2 separate regions of the Homo sapiens genome follow, and region 2 is linked to region 1. Evidence: promoter capture Hi-C in human tissues and cell types (Jung and others, 2019). All regions are on one chromosome and are shown on one strand. Each heading gives the region's core, a stretch centred on a gene start or on the middle of the fragment in contact. The rest is flanking DNA. Distances are from core to core; before and after follow the strand shown. Region 1 holds the start of SV2B (synaptic vesicle glycoprotein 2B). Region 2 holds the start of LOC105370972 (a long non-coding RNA gene).

What was found. Contacts are between HindIII fragments. The study calls those that stand out against the background at their distance.
Region 2: a fragment that was not itself captured here is called in contact with the fragment with the promoter of SV2B in region 1 in 2 of the 25 tissues and cell types used here (dorsolateral prefrontal cortex and heart right ventricle).

What each region holds. Positions count from the first base shown.
Region 1 is chr15:91,095,156-91,103,097 of GRCh38, forward strand. SV2B (synaptic vesicle glycoprotein 2B) reads left to right here and starts at 5,102. Exons shown (of 13, transcript NM_001323032.3): 1 at 5,102-5,208. RefSeq lists an enhancer at 4,338-4,879 and a silencer at 4,929-5,328. The HindIII fragment of the contact is 7,105 bases long and covers 288-7,392 here.
Region 2 is chr15:91,241,883-91,249,824 of GRCh38, forward strand. The region is part of intron 2 of SV2B (synaptic vesicle glycoprotein 2B); the gene reads left to right. LOC105370972 (a long non-coding RNA gene) reads right to left here and starts at 4,195. Exons shown (of 3, transcript XR_007064760.1): 1 at 1,699-4,195; 2 at 1,419-1,559. The HindIII fragment of the contact is 6,797 bases long and covers 1,117-7,913 here.

The DNA of each region.
Region 1 (7,942 bases), core at 3,852-6,351:
CTCCCCTCCACTCTCAACCAAGAACGCTAAAAGTAAATCACCAGATAGAAATGACTTTAGACCCTTATCAGCCTGGAGACAGCAGCAGAACATCTACATAACATGCTTAACTAGCATTTATCTACCATTAGTTTCCTGTATATTTGGCTTCCTACAATTTCCTAAATTGTAGGAGACTCAAAGTCCTTTTCTTTTGTCTTGTCACTTCTCTAAAAATTTATTATTCTTTGTTGAAGATGTTGTATAAGATGGAGTTTGAAGCTATCTCTGTGAGAATTACTTATTTTCTGGGTATCCTCCAGGCATATGTAAGATATACATGTTAATAAACTTGTTTGGTTTTCTCTTGTTAATCTGTATTTTGTTTCAGAAGCCCCAGCCAAACATTTTAGAAGGGTAGAAGGGAACTTATTTTTCCTCCCCTATACACCTATGGTTAGCATCATACTTATTAGTAAGAGTGCTTTCCCTCTGAAGTTATGACTAAGACATGCTGTTCATTATTACCACGTTTACAGTTAACATCATACATAACAGTATGAAGATGCCCCATTCCCCAAATTTGAGAGTTAGACAATGATGCCCGGTGTCATCACTTTTATGAAAGGGCCTAGCTAGAGCAATAAGGCATGAAAAAGTTTATGTAGAAGATGTAACCATTGGAAAAGAAAAAGTGAAATTGTCTTTAATCACATATATTCTGTACCTTAAAAATATCAAAGAATATATAAGCTTTTTTGTTTTGTTCTGTTTTTGTTTTTTGAGATGGAGTCTTCCTCTGTTGCCAGGCTGGAGTGTCATGGTGCGATCTCAGCTCACTGCAACCTCCACCTCCCGGGTTCAAGTGATTCTCCTGCCTCAGCCTCCTGAGTAGCTGGGACTACAGGCATGTGCTGCCACACTCAGCTAATTTTTGTATTTTTAGTAGAGACGGGGTTTCACCATGTTGGCCAGGATGGTCTCAATCTCTTGACCTTGTGATCTGCCCACCTCGGCCTCCCCAAAGTGCTGGGATTACAGGTATGAGCCACCGCGCCTGGCCTATACAAGCTGTAAAAATTAATAAGTGAATTTAGCAATTAAAAGGATATAAAATATAAGAACAATATATCGAAATAAGTTTTATTTTGATACTGATATAAGGTCAATCTAAAATTAATTGTATTTTTGTATACTAGCAATAAGATTAAAAATGAAGTTATAGTACTATTTACAATAGAATGAAAACATCAAAGATTTAAGCATGATACAACAAAACATAGGCAAGATCTATTCATTGAAATCTAGAAAGTATTTCTGAGTGACATTAAAGAAGACAAAATAAGTAGAGAGATATAAAATGTAAAATTATTGGGGGACAGTATTGCTAAGGTGTTCATTCTCACCAAATTGATCTATAGATATAAGGCAATGCCAATCAAAATCCCACCAGGGATTGTGTGCATAATTTGACAAGTTGATTCTAAAATTCTTGTGGAAAAGTTAAGGACCCGAAAGAACCAAGACAACTTGGAAGAAGAAAAAAGGTGGGCAAACATGATCAGATTTCTAGACTTATAATAAAGGTAACTAAGACAGTGTAGTGTTGGTGTAAGTATAGGTACACAGACCAGTGAAACAGAATGAAGAGTCTAGAAATAGATGCACATATAGATGGTCACTTGACTTATAACAAAGATGCTATTGCAAGCTAATTCATAAAGAATGATCTTTTCCACAGTGGTTTTGGAGCAACTGCTATCTTGAAATAAAAGTAAAATTTCAGCCTACCTTATCCCATGCACAAATAGAAAATAAACTAAAATGTAAAGGGTAAAACAAAGGCTTGTAGAAGGAAAGAAACACCAGACAATAGATGCCCAACCCTGAGACAAAGAAAGATTTGTTAAACAAAACACACAAAAGCATTTGTCTTTTAATCACAAAAGAAAAAATTAATGTTGTGTGTCATTAAAATTAAGACAATAAAAATATAAGCCCCAAACACGGAGAAGATATTAAAATTACTATATCCAACCAAGGATTTATACCTAAAACAGAGAGAGTGCCTACAGATCAATAAGAAAAAGACAGAAAACCCAATAAATTGGTCAAAAGACTTGAAACTTTACAAAAGAATATCCAAATGGCCAATAAGCATAAGAAATTGCTCAACATTAGTAATAATCAAGAAACACACATTAAAACTATATCAAAGTTTTAACTTCAATGTAATTTACACTACACACAAGAATGGCTAAAATTAAAAGCACTGATAATGCCAAGTTATGGCAAAGAAATAGAACATCTGGAATTCTCAAATATTGCAGATGGGACTAGGACTGTAAATTGGCACAACCACTTTGGAAAACTGTTTGGTAGTACTGTATCTACTAAGGCAAAGTACTGTATCTATTTACTAAGGCAAAAACAGGCATTTACCTTGTGACCCAGCAACTCTATTCCTAGTTTCATATTCAAAAGAAAAGAGCACATATGTCTATCAAATGTTCATAACAGGCTGTGTGCCATGGCTCACACCTGTAATCCTAGCACTTTGGAAGGCTGATGTGGGTGGATATCTGAGGTCAGGAGTTTGACACCAGCCTGGCCAACATTTCAAAACCCCGTCTCTACTAAAAATACAAAAATTTTCCGGACTTGGTGGCATGTGCCTGTAATCCCAGCTACTTGGGAGGCTGAGGCAGGAGAATTGTTTGAATCTGGGAGGTGGAGGTTGCAGTGAGCTGAGATCATGCCACTGCACTCCAGCCTGGGCGACAGAGCGAGACTTCTTCTCAAAACAAAACAAAACAAAAAACCAAAAAAGAACAAAAAACAAGTTCATAGCAGCTTTATTCATCACAGCTAAAATCTGGAAGCAACTCAAATGTACACTCATAGAAGAAGGGATAAATTGTGTTATATTCAGGCAATAGAATACCATACAGCAATAAGAAAAAAATGACCTACTGATATATGTAATGATATGGAAGAATCTCACAGACATTATTTTGAGTAAAAGAAGCCACACCCAAAAGAGTACATACTATATATATACTGTATGACTCCATTCATGAGTAGTTCAAGAGCAGGTGATACTAATTGCTGCTGAAAAGGGTCAGAGTGGTGGTTACACCTAGGTGGAGGGTGACTGGTATTGCCTGGGAAAGAGCATAAAGAGACCCCTTGATGCCAGGACTGTTTGCCACCTTAATCTGGATGGTGGCTGTAGCAATAGATATTAAGCAGATACGATATTCTGGGTCCCTGTCCATATGAGGCAGACAACAGAGGCGTGCGTTCCTACAGCTTACATTCTCTTATGGAAGCCGGACAACAACTTTAGTAAGGCGTTGGGTGCTGTAGTAGAGGAACTAATGGTAGCTCTGGGCACATGGAGCAGGGAGAATTCAGGTATTTCAGGAATGAGGGAAGACTTCTTTGAGGAAGAGATGGCTCAGCTGAGAATAAGGCTTTAGGCAGAGGTAAGAGGAATGGGAGGAGGAGAACATTCCAAGCAGAGGGAACAGTATGTGCAAAGACCTAGAGGTGAAAGAGTGAGGCACGTCCAAGGAATTAGAAGTTCCATATGGCCAGAGTACAGGGGAAAAGATGAGGGTGGAGGGGTGAGGCTGTGGGGGGTTAGCAAGGGTTTGCTTTCCAGCACTAAATGTGATGTGTTAGGCTGGCGCTGTAGCGCGAGCCTGCATCCCAGCTTGGGAGGCTGAGGCAGGCGGATCACTTGAGCTCAGGAGTTCCAGACCAGCCTGGAGAACAGAGTGAGACTTCTACTCTACAAAACGTTTAACAATTGGCCAGGAGTGGTGGCGCATGCCTGTAGTCCCAGCTACTTGAGAGGCTGAGGCAGGAGGATTGCTTGAGCTGCGGAGGTTGAGGCTGTGATCCAGCCACTGCACCACAGCTTGGGCAACAGAGCCAGACCCTGTCTCAAAAAAAAAAAAAAAAAAATGTTTCGGATTTTTCAAGGACACTGGGAAGCCATCACATGGTTTTAGGTAGGAAAGAGTCAAGATCAGATTTACATGTTGAGAAATGACTCCAGGAGCCTGAGAAGTTGAAGTCCTTGCGGGTGGTCCAGGTGCGAGTCGGCGGAGGCCCCAGCCAGGGAAGAGGCAGGGAGCTGGAGCGCAGGTCATTGACGGCAGCGAGAGTGGGGAGTCCAGCTGAAGACCTCATGATGGAGGATGTGCTCCATGGAGAAGAGGGGGAAGGCTCTTCCAGAACTGGCCTTCATTTTAGCCCTGTTAGGAAAGGAACGTAGCTTCGGATCCTAGAGGGGCCAGGCACCTGCAGTGTTGTGCTGTTTGAGTCCGCATCCGAATTTCCAGTGTCCTTTCCTTGCTCCTTACTTGCTCCTAGAAGGAGCCCTATGCTCCTAAAGAGTCTTTCGGTGCTGAGCCTTGGCAGTTTAGTTTGCTGAACTCTCGTCAGTGGAGTTAGTGGGTGGTGGTTTGGAAGGAGGGAGACAGAGGTGGAGGGCTTGTTTGAATGCACCAAGCCTTGCAGGCTTTCCTCCTCCCCGCGCTGGCCGGGTAGGTTCTCTTCAGTTCCTGATGAGGCAAACGAGAACAAAGCAGTCGAACAGCACCATGATCGACGATACTTTGGGGGCGGCGTGATCAGAGGATTCCCCTTCCCGGGAACTTGCGTCTAGTCCTCTGACGCATCCTAGTTCGGAGTGGGTGGAAGGGCATGTGGAGTCCACAGCGCCCCCTCGCCCTAGGCGGGGTGGAGACAGCGAGACGACGCCCATGATCAGCTGGTTACAAAACTCGAGGAATAAGAAGTTTAATATTTATTGGTCTGCAAATCCGGAGACCTTGCGGCCTCACTGGTCCTCCTTCCCTCTGAGCTATCTCCACACCCAGCCTTCGATCAGAAGGAGATTTAGAAGCAGAGCTGCCCGCAGCGAATACTTTTAATGCCCGGGCCGGGAAGAAAGCGGGTTAGGATCTGATCCCGCTGAGTAGAGGACCCAGGAGCCTCCCGCCCCGCGTGCTCTGTAGCGCGGGGGCGCGCTGCGCGCTGCGCCTGGGCGGCTGGCGGGGGCGGCGTGGGCGCGGTGATGCAGGTGTGACACCCGCCGGCGCCTGCCTCCGCCCGGATCGCCCAGCTCCGCGTTAGCCGGAGCTGCACGCGGGGCTGCCGGGGCGGACGCTGCTCTGCCTGCATCCGGAGGCGGCCGCCAGCGGATTTGCCACCCAGGTAGGGGACTGCGTTGCTCGCTGCGGTGCAACCGACCCAGCCGGGGCGCGGACCCCGCGTGCGCCAGGGCTCCCAGACTCGCCTGCCTGGGCTGAAATATACACGCTCGCACAGCTGAGTGCTGTTCATAGTAAATGGCACAAAAGATCGGAGAGTCTTGAAAAACCGGCGCAGAAAAGCAAGGACTTGCCCGCTGCCTGGAGCTGTGCGCTTCTTTGAAAGCGGCCTCCCCAAGGGCTGTTTTAAAACCCTGTTTGAACTATTAGCGCCATAAGTAGTTTTGCAACTTATAAATGTCAGGCTGCTGGCATTTATAGCTCCGTTTCCATAAGCTTCCTAGCCGCTGCTTTTAGTTTCAGTTACATTCTAGTAGATAGATTTTGTTATTGTTGTTGGCTTGTTCTTAAAGAACAGAATTCAAACGTGCTTACACCTGGTGGCTCTTGGGGTTTGTGAGTGTGTATTTCTGTATGTGCAGGGCGCCCTCCGTGGGCGTGGGAGCCGTTTCTTAGGGACACAGAAGGATTTGTTTATGGACGGGTTTTAGCGCAAGGGAAAGAAAATGACTTGTTTTGCAGGGATGGGCTAGCAAATGCGTTTAGCCAGGGAGGAGCAAGGCACCGCTGTGTCTTCGGCAGACGGGTGGTAGAAATCTCTGCTGTCCAGGGTTCAGCAGGGCTGATGAAATACACTCCTTTATCCGGAAATTACAGATGCAAATTACTCCGTTTAAGGGTAACTTAACGTTGGTGTCTTGGGCTCTGATAAGAGCAGCCCCAGTGGGGTGGGGTGGGACGCTGGGGGAATGCTTGCTGGCTTTCTAGCCCTTGGGGAGGTGAATGTGGGTGGCTTTGGGGCTCAGAGAGTGGCAGGTGAGGGGTAAGGAGGGTGCATGAGGGAGGACTGGGCACTGTAGTCGGCTCAGCGGTGGTTCTGGTCTATGCTGGTCTCCTCTGTGTTTCTGCTTCCTGCCCTTTCCAGAAGAGGTGACTTGTTCTGCTTGTTCCAGTTGGTGCAGTAGGTACAGGCTCGTTCTGCATCTTTCTTGAGTCAGCAAATACTTACTGAGCACTTAGTATTTGTCAGAGATGGGATTAGTCCTTGGGGATGCAGAGATGATGATAACAATGTCCTGGCTCCCTGAGGTTCACACCTGGTAGGGGGAGAAGCACTCGTAATCAGGAGGTGGATAAGTTCATGATGGTGTTGGAAAAGAGCAGTGAGAGCAGAGAGGAGGAGGAAATTGATAGTGGCAGTGATTAGTATAAAAATGAAGCCCTCATGGATTAGGCATGGCGTGGATTTCAGCAGGGACTGGGTCGCTCTCTTGGTTCTTCGGTCCGGGAGTGACCCACATGACTCTCCCACACCATTGCCATCACTGCCACTGGGTGGGCAGAGCTTTACAAGTCTCGGCTGGGCTGGTATTTGCAGTATGTGACTAGACCCCAGTAGACACAGGCTGACACCCAGAGAGGAGCACACACAATACAAGTCAGACTTTAATTTTTTCCTTTTTTAATGAATGCTTTTCCTGAATTCCAGGACTATGAAGGTTTTGAAGCAACACTTCACAAAGGCAGGGACTCTGGAAAATTCTGAGGGAGTTTCAGAGCAGATGAACTTCTGTCTGCTTCTCCCTGGGTCCCCGACCTATCTGTTCTTGTCCCAGCCCAGTTCAAAAGGAAAACTCTCCCTTGATTTTCCCTAAATGGGTGGAATAAGGGAAAACTAAAGCTGTTACTACCAGTCTTTTCTGGGAGATGAAAATCCAATCTCAAGGATGTTTCTTCCTGGACCAAAGCTGTGATGGGTGACGAAAAATGATAGAATGAAAAGCTCTTGTGTTATGTATTTGCCAGAGATGTGTGTTACATGCGCCTACATCATCATTAAGGTATTTGAAAAGCAGCGTGCACTACAAGAAGCATGAGCGTGGATGCTCAAACAGACCTAGGTGAGTGTCTTGGGCAAGTTACTCAGCCCCTCTTTGAGCATTAGTTTCCTGATCTGTAAAATGGAGACAGTAATAGGATTCTTATAATAATTAAAGAAAAGATACTTTAAAATATTTACTCATTGTTACCCGATCATCATATATAACTTGCCTGGCACAAAGTAGGTGCTCAAGAAATGGCAGTTCATTCATTAAGTTCCTACTATGTGTCAGCCATTGCTCTATGTGTGGAGAATACAGACAAAAACAACCAAAAAAGCCCTCTCTCAAGGAGCTTAAATTAATGAGAGAGTGTGTGTATGTGTGTGTGTGTAAGATGATGGACAAATAAATAAGTATAGAGTGTATCAGCTAATGAGACACTGTAATGGAGAAAAATAAAGCTGGCTGAGAGGACTGGGGAGTGCTGCCAGAGGGCAGGGTGGGGCTTGTTATTTATTTTTATACAGCTTGGCCAGGGAAGGCTTTTTGGTAAATGACATTTGACCAGACATCTGGGGAAGTGAGGGAGGAAGCCAGGGATTCTGGTAAATGACATTTTACCAGACATCTGGGGAAGTGAGGGAGGAAGCCAGAGGTTGCAGGCAGCACCTGCAAAACCCTGAGATAGGAGAGAGGTGTGTTCCCAAGAGACCCAGAAAGGAGGCCACGGAAGCTGCTGTTGAGTCAGACACCCGGGACAGCAGTAGGACCTGAGGTCATAGGGGCAACACGGCAGGTATTTGAGATATTGCCTCTTAGGATTCCTATTTGTCACTATGATGTATGTGCTGAGTT
Region 2 (7,942 bases), core at 3,265-5,764, 150 kb after region 1:
CCCTTTCCAGTAAAATTCACTGAACCCAGTTCCTCACTTTCTGTTCTCACTTGAACCCACTTTCAGTAGAATGAATGAGTGAGGACGTTTCATCTTTAAGCAGGAGTTAATCCTCGCCTCTTCAGAAACCTGCTCTTGTCTAGATCACTCTTGGCCTCCACTTGCTCAGTTCAGCAGTCAGCTCTCATCCTCAGCTTATTCACCTGTTCACAGCAACTCTAACGGTTAGCCACTCTCTCCTCCTTGATGCGCTTTCTTTATTGGACATCTAAGCTACCTCTGTCTCCTCGTTTTCCACCTGCCCATTGGCTGCTCCTTCTTGTTCTCCATCACTGGTCTCTCTTCATATTCCTGGCCTTTAAATGTTGGAATGTCTCAGTGCTCAGTCCTTGAATCTCTTGTGTATTGCCAGTCACTTCTTTGGGGATCGTGTTTGTTGTCTGCTTTCATTACCACCTTTCCTCTGGATGCCACCTTTAAAATGCATCCAGAATCCAGCCACTTCTTACCACTTTCCTCTACCTACCAACCTGGCCCAAGTCATCAGCGTCATTCACTTGAAATACATGTGGTGGCCTGCTAACTGATCTTTACGATTCCACCTGTTGGAGGGAGAGGCTATTGAGGATGGATGGTCAGGGAAGGCCTCTTTGAGATTTCGCCTGAAATATGAGAAGGAGCCAGCCATGCGAAGATCTGAACAAAGAACATTCTAGATAGAGGAAAGAGCAGTGTGAAGACTCTGAGGTGGGAGAGAGCATAGGACATCAGTATCCAGGGGTTGCTTAATACTTGATAAAAGGGTGAATAGCAGAATAAGAGTAACCGTCATAGGATGAAGAGATCTGACCCAGGAGTTACCTATTATTTTTTTAAATACGAATACTCACTTTCTGAACATGCTATTAAAGGCTGCACAAATCTCTGTCACACAGGGTTCTCAAATAGTAGGTGAAACTACTGTTTGGCTAGTAGTGTTTTAAAACTCAGAGATTTTATTTAGCAATCTAGATTTCTGGTTCTTTTTGAAACTGTAGGAATAGGGTCTATCTTCTGTAACACAGCAGTTGGCTGAAGTTAGGTGGTGGCTGCTCCCTTTAGACGGGCATGTATTTCTCAGTCCCCACACTCCCTATTAGGGATGTCTGGAAGTATCACCCATTTGTATAACCTGCCTGGGCCCTGTTGGCATCTGCTTTTGCCCTCTTATGAGACCCCTGGACTATTCCTATATCTCATCAGACACAATATTCCACCCTCTAGCAATGACCACAACTTGGTCTTAAGTGAAATGGCAGAGGCATCACTGAGCCTCATTGGGTTATGATCCTATCTGAGATGCCCACAGTGCCCAGGAGAGCTATCAGAGGTGTCATACCTCCACTGGCCCAGGTGACACCTCCTCTTACCCGTCTCACCTGGAGTCATTCTGGATTGGAGGCACCAAAAGGGAAGCTGCTTTTCTGAAACATCTCTAGTGTGGTGGTATGTGAGCAAGGCAATTTCAGGGTTCTTGAAGTATCCTCAGGGAATCTGTCTTAATGCCTCTTCTTTTTAGCCTGAGAGAAGATTAAGGAAAGTGACAGATACCCCTCTGCCCCAAGGCTAAGGTGAGCCCCAGTCAGAAACCTCACTGTTGTCTTAAATCCTTTCTATTGCAGCTGCTTCCACTGTGGCTGTGGATATGTCTCTACTCACCAAAGACACAGCCAGGAACCTGGGGTCTGGGTCTCCTCATTGCTCACTGCTTGGCCCAGAATGTTGTCTCATGGTTTCATCTTGGTTATCCATCTCCTGCGATGATAAAGTCTCTAGGTTGCCAGGCAAAGTCTTTAGTTTCCCCTGTATATGGTTGGAGAGAGAACTTCTTCCTGATTTAAGGCTCTGTCCTTAAATCCAATGCTGCTGAAGCAAGGGGCTTCTGTCTCTCAGACTCCCTGATCTGCCTGTAGACCCTCACCTCTGGGCCTATTGGACACATTCAGAACCTAGAACTTCCAGGAGGGGCGGTTCTGCTCTTCTGCTGTGCTGTGGCTCGCCCTGAGCTGAGGGGCCAGGGCAAGTGAGAATGTTGCATCCTCAGGCAGAGTGACAAATGCCTCACCCCAACCCTGCTGTCCTTGAAGAGTATTAGTGTATCTTTCTTCATGGGCTATGTCATAATTTGGGGCATTGGTGACTCACTCAACTATAATCCTAGGTTCTTTCATCAGAGATTGGGAAAGTTTACTTATACTTTAATAATTGTGGTCAGAGAGGAAATCTCTTAACCTCAGTTTCCTCATCTGTTAAATGAAGCCATTAATACCTCCCTCACCAGGTTGGAATGACAAATTGAAATTATTATACATGTGATCTATCACAGTGTCTTACATATGGCAGGAGATCAACAAATGTTAATTCTTTTGTCCCTTCATTTCTCCTCTACACATTTGTATCCAAATATCTTATGTGACATTTAGGAAAGAATTCCAACTACCAAGAGAATGGACAAGTTAACCCACTTCTGAAGATTCCTTCACTTGAGTTTACTGGACCCATAAAAGACTAGAAAAGTCGAACATGGTGATTCTAGATTGGTTTCCACTAGACGACATGTTAAAGCCAAACCTTTTCGACCCAAAAGAAAGTGTTTACTCATCCAGAAGTTTCCAAGCGTCCAGATGCCACATAAACAAAGCACCTGGCTGACTTACCCAATGCATCTTATTTCATAGGGTGTGCAGATGGATACCCTGATGTTCCTCCATGATTTAATACCAAAGTGAGAGTTCTTTGTGGGATTCCCATATATGTTAAAACATTTATCACATTTACCACTTTGAGGAACTGTGAATCCCATGCCCTAGTCCAAGAGAATACTACCCTTCAAGGGGGGTATATTTGGTTGAGTAATAAATAAATGGAATGGAAATGACAGGAATTACTTTTTAGAGATGTTATTATAGATGCAATGGAAATGGTTTAGTTGGAAGATGCTGATTTTTATTCCTGCAAAGCATATGCATACAGTCAAATAAATATTTGAGTCACTGCAGGAAAAAGAAGCTCATAATCCTCTCAGGATAATGAATGCATTTAATTTCTACATATTCAAGCAAGAAAAAGGTTAGAAGTGGTTTATTTGTCTTTGGTTAATTGCTAAATAAAGAAGCTCACCCAGTCAGGGCCTCTTCTTTCTTGTCACCACGGTAAGCCAGTGCGGTCTGATGGTACATCTTATCCTGCTGCCTCTGGTGTGGAGAGGAAATCTTCTGTCTGTGTGAAAAGCATCTCTAAAGCTGAGAAGAGGTTTCTGATATCTGCCAGCTCTCTAGAAGGATATTTGGCATTGTGTCTCAAGAGCCACAAACTTGTTGATCTCCTTCGATCTCATGATTCGATTTCTTGGAATCTATTCTGAGCAAATAACTAGAAACACCAACAAAGACATATGCATAAAATATTCTTTGCTGAGTTGTTTATTAAGTGAAAAGCTAGACTATGAAGCTTTCGAGACAGAAAGATTTCTATCGTGTAAATACAGTATGTAGTTATACACGTACCAATACAAATACAAAAATAAAGCCTGCTGACAACAGCTGTCTCTGAGTGGTGGTATGATGAATAGATTATTGCTTTACCTTTTATACATTTTGGGGGGTATTCCTCAGATTTTCTTACAGTGAATAGGAATTACTTTTAGATTGTTTTATTTATTGAACAAATATTAATGGAGTACCTACTATGTGTACATCTCTGTGCTAGAGACACAGTGTCGAACTCTCCTCAAGCAAAATCAACATGGTCCCTTCGTCCAGGAGTTTACAGTCACAGGAGTTTGGCAAATATCAAACAAATAAATATATAACATCAAATAGAGACATGTGATACAAAGGAAAAGCAATAGTATGCTGCCAAAAGACTATCAGGGACGACTGAAATTTGGAACAGGAACCAACAAACTGTGGTCTACAAACCTATGACCAATTTTTTTTTTAACATTTTTAAAGGGTTGTAAATTTAGGAATAATAATATGATGTGACAGAGACCATAGAAGATTGGCAAAGTACATTTTACAAGTAAAATATCTATGCTCTGTCCCTTTATAGAAAAAGTTGGTGGAGCCTTAGTTTGGAACATCAGGGATGCCTTTCTAAGGAGATGACATTTAATGTGGGAACTGAAGAAATATGAGTTAGCAAAAAAAAAAAAAAAAAATCCCCCCTTCAAAGTCTTGTTAGAGGAAACTTCGAAAATATTTTTCAAAAAAAGCTTTTTATTGGAAGCTGGCTTCTTCTCCAGGTAAGGAGAGAGGGAGGTCTATTTAAAGGGCATACTACTAAAAATAAGTTTCCTATGCTATTCTCTATCCTTTTTCCTCATATTCCTTTAGTATATGATTGGCTTGTTTTTAAAATATCACCATCTTATTTTTATTTTTCTAATCCTGTGGCTTTCCAAGGTCCTAGACAATTTTAAGCTGTACTGCTAATAACATCAATAGCAGCTTTTATTAAATGTGCATTTACTTTGGTGCCAGGCATTTTGCTAGATACTTTAAATCCACTCCCCTATATAATCCTAACAACTCTGCAAAGATGGGCACCGAATTTTACAAAGATGTAATAGTGGTCAGAGAGGCTGAATGGGCTGCCCACAGGCATGCTGTGGTAGTCATGGAGCCAGGACCATGGCCCAGATGTCTCAGTCTCAGAACTGGGCTCTTTCTTGCATGGTGCCTGTCACTGCAGGCTCCTCCCTCTTCCAAGGAGGGGTATTCTATTTCCTTTGTTGTGTTACCACCAATTAAAAGTCTTTTCCACTCCACCACATCGCTCCTCCTTTCAACCTCCTCCTCCTCCTCCTCCTCCTCCTCCTCCTCCTTCTTCTCCTCTTCCTCCTTTGCTCTGCAAGTAGCAATCCTGGTTTTCAATTTCCTCAAAAATCTCAGTATATTAAGGGATCATTTCCCTAATATGCCACCGAGCTTGTTGAGTGAAATTGAGGGAAGATTGAATTTCTGGCTTTCTAACTAGTTCCTTATCTGCTTCACACTAAGGTAATTTTTGATAACTCCACTGCACTCTAATTTTCCAAATGTATTTTTTAAATTTCTTTTGCTAAAGACAGATTTTAAATGAGTCTAATAACATAGCCATTCCAGAGACATTGTTAATTTTGTATTTCCCTTCCCTGGTGATAGGCTCATTTTTCCTTCATTCTTCCTTTTCCTAGACTTCAAAGACAGCATTTGAGAAGCTCTTCTTATTCTCTCTGGTACCTCCATGACCTTGGACAGTGAGGTTTAGTAGTGAAAGCACAAGGCCTGGAGCCAGGAGACCAGAAATGCAGTGCCAGCAGGTCCTCGGCCAGCATTGAGGTTCTGGGCAAGTTATTGACCCTTTCTGGGGCTCAGCCTCCTCGTCTGGTAAAACTAAGGGGTTGGATTCAACATCTAACTTGTAAAGTTTTTCAATTTGTCTAGGTGTCTAGATCAGTCATGGGATAGTCAGGAGACAAATCATACCAGTTACTTGAAAAGAGAGATTTTAATGTAAAAATTATTAACAGGATGGGTGAAACGCTTTTGAAAAGTTTCACTGAGGTAGCAAATGCAGGGAGAAGCTACCTCCCCTAGGGCTTGGAGAATAAAGGAAAGAGATTGGAATGATTATAACTTAGAATCTTGAAAAGGGGTTCCATAAAGCTGCAACTCAGCTCTCTTAAGAGAGGCCCTGGCTGGCAGTTGCTGGTGTTGGAGAGGAGAATGAAGTGCAATGTGGCCTCTGCTAATTGGATGCAGCTGCTATCTAGAAAGGAATTGCTGCAGTCAGGCTGAAACCTACAGGGAACAGAAAGGACAGGTGCTTTCTTCTTTCCCCAGCCCTGAAGCCTCCCTCTAGCGCCCTCTATTGGCAGAGCCTAGCAGAGAGTGGCTGGCAAAACTGACCGGGATTTGTGGACCAAGTAAGGTCTAGGAGGGTGGCTTTGGAGCTGAGGGACAATAATTTCATAACTGCACAGTGTTCATTGCTAAGATTGCAAACTGGTAGGTTAGAAGCCACTTTTTTGTTAAGGATATCTTTATTATTATTATTCGATTCTTTTTAAAGTCATTTATCATAGTCGTACATATTTTGGAGCACCTGTGATATTTTGATCCATGTGTACAATGTCATAAAGATCCTTGTCACGCCTGTAATCCCAGCACTTTGGGAGGCCGAGGTGGGCGGATCACGAGGTCAGGAGATCAAGACCATCCTGGCTAACACGGTGAAACCCCGTCTCTACTAAAAATACAAAAAATTAGCCGGGCGTGGTGGTGGGCGCCTGTAGTCCCAGCTACTAGGGAGGCTGAGGCAGGAGGATGGCGTGAACCCGGGAGGCGGAGCTTGCAGTGAGCCGAGATCGTGCCACTACACTCCAGCCTGGGTGACAGAGCATCTAAAAAACAAAAAACAAACAAACAAAAAAATGCCTTGTATGGCCTTAAGTAGTTTAATCAAACATTTGTGTCTGAGTTTATGTTTTTAATCTGCATATCTTCTTCCTTGGAAATCCACAGTACTTCATCTTTCATTATTTACATTTTTAAAAAATTAATTTAAAATTAATGAATGGGAAGGCAACTTGGAGATCATCTCTAGTTCAGTAATCGGTTTATAAATGAGGTGATTAATACCCTCAGAAAGTGAGAGGTTTTGCTCCCAAATCATACAACTAGTGAATGAGATCTTTGGGTTCCAAGGCCTGGATTCTCATCATTATTTACTGTTTACAGGAGGACAGATGTGCTCTAGCCTCTTGCTACTCAAAGTGTGGTCCCCAGACCAGCAGCACTGGCCTCAGCTGGCAGCTTGTTAGAGATGCAGAATCTCAGGGCCCATCTCAGGCCTGCTGGATCAGTATATGATTTTAACAAGATCCCCAGGTGATTTATGTGCACAGTAAAGTTTGAGAAGTGCTGAAGACAGCTTTATTGAAGTAAAAGAAAAAATAGACTTTTATTGGATGCTAGTGTTTTTCTCTAGGGTGGACTCAGGGTGTGGGGTGTGGAGACTAGTTCTCAGCAAATCTCTGGAGCACTCCTCTAAGTCTCTTTTCCCTCTCCCTGCTTTCAGTTTATGGGCCCATACACATACATGCAAACACCCATGTGCACACACACAATCACACGTGCATGCATCCATACATCTACGTTTTCACACACACACACACACACACACACACACACACACACACATGTTTATGATCTGGCTTCTGTCCTACCTTCTAGCCTGAACCCTCACCAGATTCCCCTACATGAACTATGCTCTACTCACGCTAGGCTACTTACAAGAAGTTGCCCGAACATATCAGACTTTCTTTTTGCCTCAGTCACCAAATGGAAATCAGACTAAATTCTGTTTGTCTTTCAAGAACAGCTCAATGTCTTTCTCTTGGAAGCCTTCCCACATTGAGTGAATTATATCCAAGGTTTGCTCTTCTTCTGGGTTTTAATAATACCTGACAGATACCTTTATTGAGCACCTTTTTTCTCACTCATAGATAATCATACATTTTATTGTTTATCTCCTTGAAAGGATGGAACCATTCCTCACTTGACAAGCAATACTGGGGGTGAGCAGATGAAGAAAGAATGAACTAATGTAAAGAGAAGGAATCTAACAAATGCTTATCTGTAAAGAGCAGCAAAGTGTAATAGTTAAAGGATCGAGTTGGTTTTTTGAAAAGATAAACAAAACTGACAGACTTTTAGCTAGACTAAGGAAAAAAGAAGGCTCAAATAAAATTAGAAATGAAATGAAAGAGAAGGCATTACAACTGATACCACAGAAATATGAAGGATCACAGGAGATTATTATGAAAAATTGCACACAACCAGTTGTGTAATCTGGAAGAAATGCATACATTCCTAGAAACATGCAATCCGCCAACACTCAATTATGAAGAAATAGA